Linked DNA regions of Homo sapiens: region 1 is linked to region 2. The links are contacts of gene promoters, found by promoter capture Hi-C in blood cells and fetal thymus (Javierre and others, 2016). All regions are on one chromosome and are shown on one strand. The core of a region is centred on a gene start or on the middle of the fragment in contact, and the rest is flanking DNA. Distances in the headings are between cores, read along the strand shown. Region 1 has its middle 5.3 kb from the start of NAP1L4. Region 2 holds the start of MRGPRG-AS1 (MRGPRG antisense RNA 1).

The links. The method cuts DNA at HindIII sites, captures the fragments that hold promoters and counts their contacts. A CHiCAGO score of 5 or more calls a contact.
Region 1: a contact is called between a fragment that was not itself captured here and the fragment with the promoter of MRGPRG-AS1 in region 2, in 3 of 17 cell types (M2 macrophages, M1 macrophages and erythroblasts). The highest score is 7.6, in M2 macrophages.

What each region holds. Positions count from the first base shown.
Region 1 is chr11:2,995,538-2,999,730 of GRCh38, reverse strand. No RefSeq gene overlaps it. Among named protein-coding and RNA genes, the nearest start is that of NAP1L4, 5.3 kb to the right of the region's middle. The HindIII fragment of the contact is 5,453 bases long and covers 1-4,062 here.
Region 2 is chr11:3,215,389-3,219,999 of GRCh38, reverse strand. MRGPRG-AS1 (MRGPRG antisense RNA 1) reads right to left here and starts at 1,668. Exons shown (of 2, transcript NR_027138.1): 1 at 1,441-1,668. MRGPRG (MAS related GPR family member G) reads left to right here and starts at 1,187. Exons shown (of 1, transcript NM_001164377.1): 1 at 1,187-2,056. The coding sequence starts at 1,187. The coding sequence ends at 2,056. RefSeq lists an enhancer at 1-91. The HindIII fragment of the contact is 7,931 bases long and covers 1-3,585 here.

The DNA of each region.
Region 1 (4,193 bases), core at 87-2,586, 220 kb after region 2:
TGGGCACCTTTTACCTCTGTGAGACCTGTGTGTGATCTCTCCAGCTTGGCGGCTTCACGGTGGCTGATTTCTGTTGCAACAGCCTATAGCTCCAAAGGTGCGAGTCCTGAGAGAGAGAGAGACAGGAGCTATATGGCCTTTTAGGATCTAACCTCGGAGGTCATGTCCTGACTTCCACCGTCCTCCCTAGCGGAGGCCGTCACAAGGCCCACCCACGTTCGTGCGGAGGGGGAGGCATAGACACTACCCTGTGGTGGGCATTACTGGGTTCCAGAAGGGATGGGAAATACTACTGCAGCTATTTCAGAAAGTACCATCTGGCACAAAAACATAAATCAAATTGGCAACCTCAAGAAAAGAACTTCAACTTTCTGAGAATTGGCCATTTTTTGCTACACATCTTTAATGGGGTATCTTCTAAGGTCAAAGAAAGTACAGAAAAGTCAATTCAATAGTTTTGTTGTTAGTAATAACATTGGCATTATAATTTTCAAACCCTGTATGCCAACACAAATAAGATCACTGACACCCAGGCTGGAGTGCAGGGAAGCAATCTTAGCTCACTGCAACCTCCGCCTCCCGGGTTCAAGCTATTCTTCTGCCTCAGCCTCCCAAGTAGTTGGGATCACAGACACGCGCCACCATGCCCAGCTAATTTTTGTATTTTTAGTAGAGATGGGGTTTCACCATATTGGCCAGGCTGGTCTTGAACTCCTGACCTCAAGTGATCCGCCCGCCTCAGCCTCCCAAAGTGCTGGGATTACAGGTGTGAGCCACTGCGCCCAGCCTAGCAATCAAGTTTTTAATGTAAGACGATAAAATATCAAAGAAGTCAAGGAAAATCACTTTACTATTAAATACGAATTAGAAAAAACAATATGAAGTAACTTGTGATTTTAAAAAGTAGATTGTTTCCTGACTGTGTAGATGGGAAGGGTGGAGAAGCAAGGCAGCCCTGGTGGCACTGAGCAGCCCCAGCCCCGATCTGGGGCTCTAAACCCCATCCCACCCCCTGGAGAAATGGCCAGTTCCAGGTCTGCAGCAGCAGGAGTAGCTGAGCCCAGGCACTCTTGTGCCCCAAAAGGGGAGCTTTCGAACACCAAGAAGTCAGGTCAGGAGGACACTGGACAAGGTAGTGACACATAGCAGCTGGGTGGTATGTGTCAGGGGCATTCTGCTGGGTTTGGAAAAGCCACCCCTGAAAGGTTGCATGCCATGTGATTCCACGTAGATAACATTCTCAAGTAGGAATAGAGAACAGATGGTGGTAGCTGGGGTTAAAGATGGTGGGGGGGCGGGGGCAGGTGGAGGGGAGTGACTGCACAGGGACAGTAGGAGGTGGGGTTGGTGGGGAGGGCACTTCTGTGTTCTTGTTTCCATGGTGATCACACAAATCTGCATATGTGATAGCACAACGTAGAGTCACACACATTGTACCAATGTCAGTCTCCTGTGTTGATCTTGAACTCTGGCCAGGCAAGGTGTGACCATCAGGAAACAAACTGTGCAGTTTTCTGGAAACCTATAATTACTTTAAGGCTTCAGGAGCTCCTACTGGCTAAGTTTGGGACAATTTGAGCATTGAAAAGAATGATTCCAGCCAGGGCAACATAGCGAGACCCTGTCTCTACTAAAAGTCAAAAAAATTAGCCGGTGTAGTGGCGCACTTGTGATCCCAGCTACTCAGGAGGCTGAGGTTGGAGGATTGCCTGAGCATGGGAGGTGGAGGCTGCAAGTGAGCTGCGATCATACCACTGCACTCCAGTCTGGATGGCAGAGCAAGACTCTGTCTCAAAACAAAAAACAAAAACAAACAAACAAAAAAAAAACTCCAGGCATCTGTATTTATTCTCAAAACTAGAGAAAGCTAAAACATATTGTCGTTACTGGAGGTGGCCTGTGTCAGCTCCTTTCTGTAGAGTTACTCATTAGTGACAGAAGCAAGTATTTTACCTTGCATGGGAAGTATATTTCAGGGCCACCAAATGGCCCTAGCTGAAAGGGGAAAGTTGTTCTTTCCCCCAAAGATGCCAGCTAAGGGAAGAAGCACCAGGATCAGACATCTCCATTCTGCAACCCCGAATGAAGTCATTGATTCAGGCAGGGGCTGACCGCGGATGCTGAGACCCCTGGATGAAAGCTGGTAGGTGCTGGATAATTTGATGCCAAAGTGTCACCTTGTGAGTAACTTGTAGGTTTCCAGGAGGGGATACGTGTTACTTTCTGATGTTGGGCCCTGGCTGTCAGCCCCCCAACAAAAAGAAGGATTTCCTCTAAAAGTATAAGTCAGTATTGAATGCAGCTTTTAGGCTAGGGCTCCTTAACCTTGAATGTGCGTATAAACTGCCCAGGGTTGCTTGTTAACACAAATTTCAGTTCAGGTCTAGGAGGAGCCCAAGATTCTGCATTCCTGCAGTCTCCCAGCTGTGGCCTGTGCTGCCGGGCTACAGCCCCCTCAGGAGCAAGGCTGTCCAGCTCACTTCCTGTCTGCAGGAAATACTGGGAACAGAGGGAGAATGCAGGTGAGGCCATGAAGCAGCCACCACATTTGTGCAGAAGGTGGGGCATTCTGCCAGATGCCCGGCTGGCATCTTCAATACGTCTGCGTCAAAGGGAGCAGAATAGGGCAGAAGAGAAGGACTGGGAGAGACTCGAGAAACAAAACCACCAGGTTTGAGGGATAATCTTTGAAGGATTTGAACAAACCTGCTGTAAAGACATTTCAAAGGGGGTCGGGCACAGTGGCTCATGCCTGTAATCCCAGCACTTTGGGAGGCTGAGGCAGGCGGATCACCTGAGGTGGAGAGTTCAAGACTAGCTTGACCAACATGGAGAAACCCTGTCTCTACTAAAAATACAAAAAAATTAGTTGGGCATGGTGGCACATGCCAGCTACTCCGGAGGCTGAGGCGGGAGAATCGCTCGAACCCGGGAGGTGGAGGTTGCGGTGAGCCGAGATCTCGCCATTGCACTCCAGCCTGGGCAACAAGAGCGAAACTCCGTCTCAAAAAAAAAAAAAAAAAAAAAATTTCAAGAAATTTGAATGACCAGGTATTGGATGACAGTCAAGATTTTTGCTAATTTTGTTAGTGTGATAATGGCGGCTGCATGGAGAGGTGTCTTTAATGAGATACAAAGTAGCCTGAAACCTGTAACTCAGTATCCTTTAGCCAAGGAAACTGATGAAGTGCAGCCGGCACTGCAGCAGCAGCAATCCCTTCCACAGTGTATCCTCTTTACTGGCCTGTGCTGGAAACCATGTATCAAATATCCTGACAACTGGGCCATGAGGAAATACCCTTGTCTTTAGCTGCCACCACTGGGGTGAGCGGAGGTTGGCCCAAAGCCGCGGTGCCATCCAAGGAGGCAAGAAGGAGTGGCGTGTGCCCCATTTCCAGTGGTGGCTGCACAAAAACGTATCCAGATTGCCAGGGGCACGCCTGGTCCCCACAGCTGGTGAAGGCCTGGCTCCACCTGGACTGCAGTAGGGCCAGGCTGTGGCCCCTGTTTCACGCCCCCCAATTCAGAGTGATTCTGGGCCGCTTTTCTGCCTGGAGTTTCCCCGTTCTGAGGGCCCACTGCCCGGTGCGCCTTCTCTCTGCCCTTCCCTGACTTCCTCCAGTCTCCCCAGGCTGGGTCCGAGGGCCTGCAGTGACAATAGGCTGGCTGGGCCCAGGCCATTGGCTTGGCCCCCAAGAGGACCCCAGCACCTCCCTACCCTGCAATCTCTTGCTGTCAGGCTGCAGCAGATCCTTCTGGAACAACGTGGGGTGGACACTTTTCTTGTATAATATTAGTTTGCCTGTGGAAAGTGTTTCTTTTCTGTACATGAAAGCTCTGTTCAGCTGTAAGAGCCAGATTTACATCTTCCTGTTTTTCCCCAAAGAGCAATCTTTGGTGTCTTTACTATAAAAACGTCATGTATTCATTATTTAAAAATAAATAATACGGAAAACTTCCAATATAAAGTAGAAACTGAAAGACCCCGTGCCCTACCTCTCAAATCCCTACAACATTTGGGGTACAGTCTTCCAGATGCCTTCTTTCTGAGGCCGGGAAGCTTGCAAAGGCACTCCCTGTCTGCGCACCCCTCTTGTGTGGAGTACGCCATGGGTGTTTTCTGTTCTCCATATACCAGGAGAAACCAGCCACCTCTCTTGGATGTCTCCAGGGCCCCACTTTGTTAATGCCCC
Region 2 (4,611 bases), core at 419-2,918:
GCTTGATGGCTCTCTCTCTGTCTGTCTCTCTCTCTCTCACACACACACAGTCTGTCTCATCTCTGTTTCTCTGTGTCTATCTCTGTCTCTATCTCTCTGTAGCTCTCTGTCTCTGTCTCTCTGTCTCTGTCTCTCAATGTCTGTCTACATCTCTGTCTCTCCCTGTCTCTCTGTCTCTCTCTATCTCTCTTCTCTCTCCCGTGTCTCTCACCGCTGACGCCGCCACTGCTGAGCCTGGTCCTGATGCATCTCCCAGGACTAAGAACATGACCCATGTGGATCCTGGGGGAGGAGGGATGGCTGGAAAGGGAAGGGCTGCTCTGAGACCCTCTGCCTTTCAGCGCAGCTTCCGGTGGCCAATCTCTCTCGCACTCTGAGAACATCCTCGGGACTCTCAGCCTCGCTCCTTGCAAGTGGCCACTTGTATCTGCCCCTCCCCTTGTGTTAGTGGCTCCTGGAGAGGCCCCCTGGCCCTGCCACCATCACCAAAGCCCCTCTCTTGGCTTGAGGCTTCAGAGCAGCCTCCTGAGTGCACCGCCGGCAGCATGAGCCCCGGGATTCAGCTTCTGCTTAGGCCAGGAGTGCACAGGGAAGGCTGGGGGCTCCCTCCAGCTCCTCACACCGCATCTTCCCTCCTCCCTCCTCCTCAGACCACCTGCAGCCTCTGCCTTTGGGCACCTCCCTGGACACCTCCAGAGACCCTCCGGGGAGGGGACTTCGCCAGCAGGCTGGTCTAGGCTCACCAGGTGGGAGCCCCATGAGGGTCCACCGTGGAGAAGCTCCCACCTCTGGGGGAAGAGGAAGGCGCCACACGTGGGTTCCCCATGCACGTTCCCTCTGTCTGCAGACCCTTGTCTGGCACACGGTGGAGGGTGCAGCATCACCCTCACCACATCCATGAGGGACATGGACATCTTTTCAGCAAGTTAGTCCACCCTGCCAGGAGCCCAGGGCCTGCCCTCAGGTATGGGGAGGCATTAGGCACGCCTGACCTGAGGTGCAGAGGGCTGAGACCCGGCTGAGGTCCCGCCGCTGGGAAGGGTGGTCCAGGGGCTGCACCCAGAGGGCACCTGCAGGGCCATGGATGCCACTCCCTGTGCCCCCAGCGGGGGCACAAAAGACTCCTGAGGACCATGTCTGTCTCCATCTTGCAGGTCCCTCGCCAGCACCCTCTGAGCCGGCCAGGATGTTTGGGCTGTTCGGCCTCTGGAGAACCTTCGACAGTGTGGTCTTCTACCTGACGCTGATCGTGGGCCTCGGGGGACCGGTAGGTAACGGGCTGGTGCTCTGGAACCTCGGCTTCCGCATCAAGAAGGGCCCCTTCTCCATCTACCTGCTGCACCTGGCCGCCGCCGACTTCCTGTTCCTCTCCTGCCGTGTGGGCTTCTCCGTGGCTCAGGCTGCCCTGGGCGCCCAGGACACACTCTACTTCGTGCTCACCTTCCTGTGGTTCGCGGTGGGGCTCTGGCTGCTGGCGGCCTTCAGCGTGGAGCGCTGCCTCTCCGACCTCTTCCCCGCCTGCTACCAGGGCTGCCGGCCCAGACACGCCTCGGCCGTCCTCTGCGCCCTGGTGTGGACCCCGACCCTGCCGGCCGTGCCGCTGCCCGCCAACGCCTGCGGCCTGCTGCGCAACAGCGCGTGCCCCCTGGTCTGCCCGCGCTACCACGTGGCCAGCGTCACCTGGTTCCTGGTGCTGGCCCGCGTCGCCTGGACGGCTGGCGTGGTCCTCTTTGTCTGGGTGACCTGCTGCTCCACTCGCCCGCGGCCCAGGCTCTACGGCATCGTCCTGGGCGCGCTGCTCCTGCTCTTCTTCTGTGGCCTGCCCTCGGTCTTCTACTGGAGCCTGCAGCCCCTGCTGAACTTCCTGCTGCCCGTGTTTTCCCCGCTGGCCACGCTGCTGGCCTGCGTCAACAGCAGCTCCAAGCCCCTCATCTACTCGGGGTTGGGCCGACAGCCCGGGAAGCGGGAGCCGCTGAGGTCGGTACTGCGGAGGGCCCTGGGGGAGGGCGCCGAGCTGGGTGCCAGGGGACAGTCCCTGCCCATGGGTCTCCTATAAGTGGGCTTGCCCCGCCCACAGGGCCTGCCAGGAGGTGCCCACCCCCACCGACCCTCGCTCACCCCACACCCAGATGCTTTCAGGACCAGGAGGAGCCCCGCCCACCACCTAGCTCTTACCCTGAGCACCCAAGGGCTGGACACAGCTGGAGAGACTTGGCCCTGACCACCCCCCAGCCAGGCCTGCTGAGGATGAGGGAGGCAGAAAATGGAGCTGGAGAGAGGTCAGGCAAGGAGAGAGAAAGGAGAAGCCTCCTGAATAGGGGTGAGGACAGGCACCACGCCCCCAGGCCCAGCCCAGATCCCCTTACCCGGCCCCTCCCCACCCTGCTGCACCTGAGTCACAGGGGAGAAAACTGCACAATAAAACAGAGCCAGCCACCAGCCCACAGTGGCCGGATTGGAACCCAGGCTTCCGGACTCCTGGGCTAGGTGGGCGCCGTCCATGCCACCTGCTGGCTGAGGCTCTGATTCGCCCCCTACAGAGTTGAGGTGGAACTACTCCTTACTCCCCGCCCTGCTCAGCCATCATTGTCCTGCCCACCCCGCGGGGACCACACCCAGGGCTCTGTCCCCCTCTCTGAGGCCCAGGACTGGCAGGTGCCTGATGTCACCAGCAGAGGCCACCAGGTGGTGCTGCTTCTGCACAGAACAGACCCAGCCCCGTGGGCCGGCGGATGCAGGAGCCTCCATCCCCTCGGTCCCCTCCCATCCCCTCCCACACTGGTCCCCACCCGGCCTCTCCTGCGTCCCCAGGGCCATCCGCTCTCTGCGGGTTGCTCCCGTCTCCCACCTCTGCTCTCACCCTCCCTCCTCAGCCCTGGATCATCTGGAGCTTTTGCCCCAAGTGTTTGCTTTGGAGAGAGAGAGAGAGAGACAGAGAGAGAGAGAGAGACAGAGAGAGAGAGAAAGAGAGAGAGAGAAAAGAAAAGAAGGAAAGAAGGAAGGAAGGAAAAAGAAAGAAAGAAAGAAAGAAAGAAAGAAAGAAAGAAAGAAAGAAAGAAAGGAAGGAAGAAAGGAAGGAAAAAGAAAGAAAGAAAGCAAGAAAGCAAGAAAGCAAGAAAGCAAGAAAGAAAGAAAGAGAAGAGAAGAGAAGAGAGAAGGGGAGGGGAGGGGAGGAGGGAGGGAGGAAGGAAGCGAGGAAGGAAGGAAGGAAGGAAGGGGATCCAAGTTTCCAAAGTGCAAACCATTTGATGTGTTTTCTGACCATGAAATAAAATACTTTCTGGTCATTTTTAAAACATTCAAGCCCTACGGAAAATACTAAAAAGAGAAATCGCCAAAATTTTTTTCCACCCAAATGGGGACATTTTTGATGAAAAGCACTCCAGTTATGTATTTTTTTAAATAAAGACCTGCAGAAATTTTCTTTTTTGCCCAAATGAAGGCATTCAATGGGTGCTCTTGGTGCCGGGTGGGACATTCTGCAGCTGCCTTTGCATAAAGTTGTTCTTTTTCCACTAGAAAAGTAAAACGTTGCTCGTTTATGGAAACTTTGAAGAAGGTTAACAACTGGAAAGAAGAAAAGCTTACATGTAGTCCCCCAACCCAGAGGCACGCACCTTTGCTGGTTTTTCTTCCTTCCCCGGGATGAATGTGTTCTGGCCACGCCAAGTCCCGTGCCCGCCTGCCCGCTGCCAGTTCTCCCTAGACCGTGCTCTCAGGACTGGAAGCTCAGCAGGGAGTGTGGGCACTGTTGGTCTGAAGGCCATCTGGGGGGCTCAGGAGGATGGGAGTGTGGGCACTGTTGGTCTGAAGGCCATCTGGGGGGCTCAGAGGGACGGGAGTGTGAGCACTGTTGGTCTAAAGGCCATCTGGGGGGCTCAGGGGGACGGGAAAGCCTGAGCCCTGGTGGCAGGGGGAGGCTTAGGCTTTGAGGGCAGGGTGGGAAGGGTTGTTCATTCTTGTGACACTTCACACAAGACCCCAGGAGCTGTGTGGCCTCCTTCCTGAAAGACCTGGAAATGGGATAAGGGTGGGGACAGTTTCAGAGGTGAAACCTACAGGATCTGTCCCATCCTCCCAGCCCAGGAAATAGCTGCAGGGCCCCCTATGGGGCCATCCATCTGTGTGCAGCAGGACAGGAAGGCGGCTGGCTGCTGATGGTGTCTGGGGCGCATGACAAACAGCCCAGTCTAGACAGATGGAGAGCGAGGGGCTTCTGCCCCGGCACCCACTGCTGAGCCCAAAGACAACCAGGTCGAATTCTGTACCTGGAGAAGCTACAGCCACATGGAAGGACAAGGTTGCCCTGGGCTGGTCTGGGTCCAGGCAGCCGCAAAAGCTGGACTACAGCCCAGATGGAGCTTCGCTCCGGTCCTGCCCGCTCTTCTCGGGCTGAGTGACCTCCAGCGTGTCACCTGACTGCTCTGAGCCCAGGTCTGTGAGAGACATCAGGGCAAGGTCTCCTTGCCCGGATGGCAGGGATCCAGGTCTCCACAGAGGGCGGCCCGCCCAAACCTTCAAGGCCAAATGAATCACCTGGCCCACCTCTGCAGACCTCCAGGTGTGTCCCGCCCGCCCTGACCTTGGCACACCCACCTCGCTGCCTTCTGC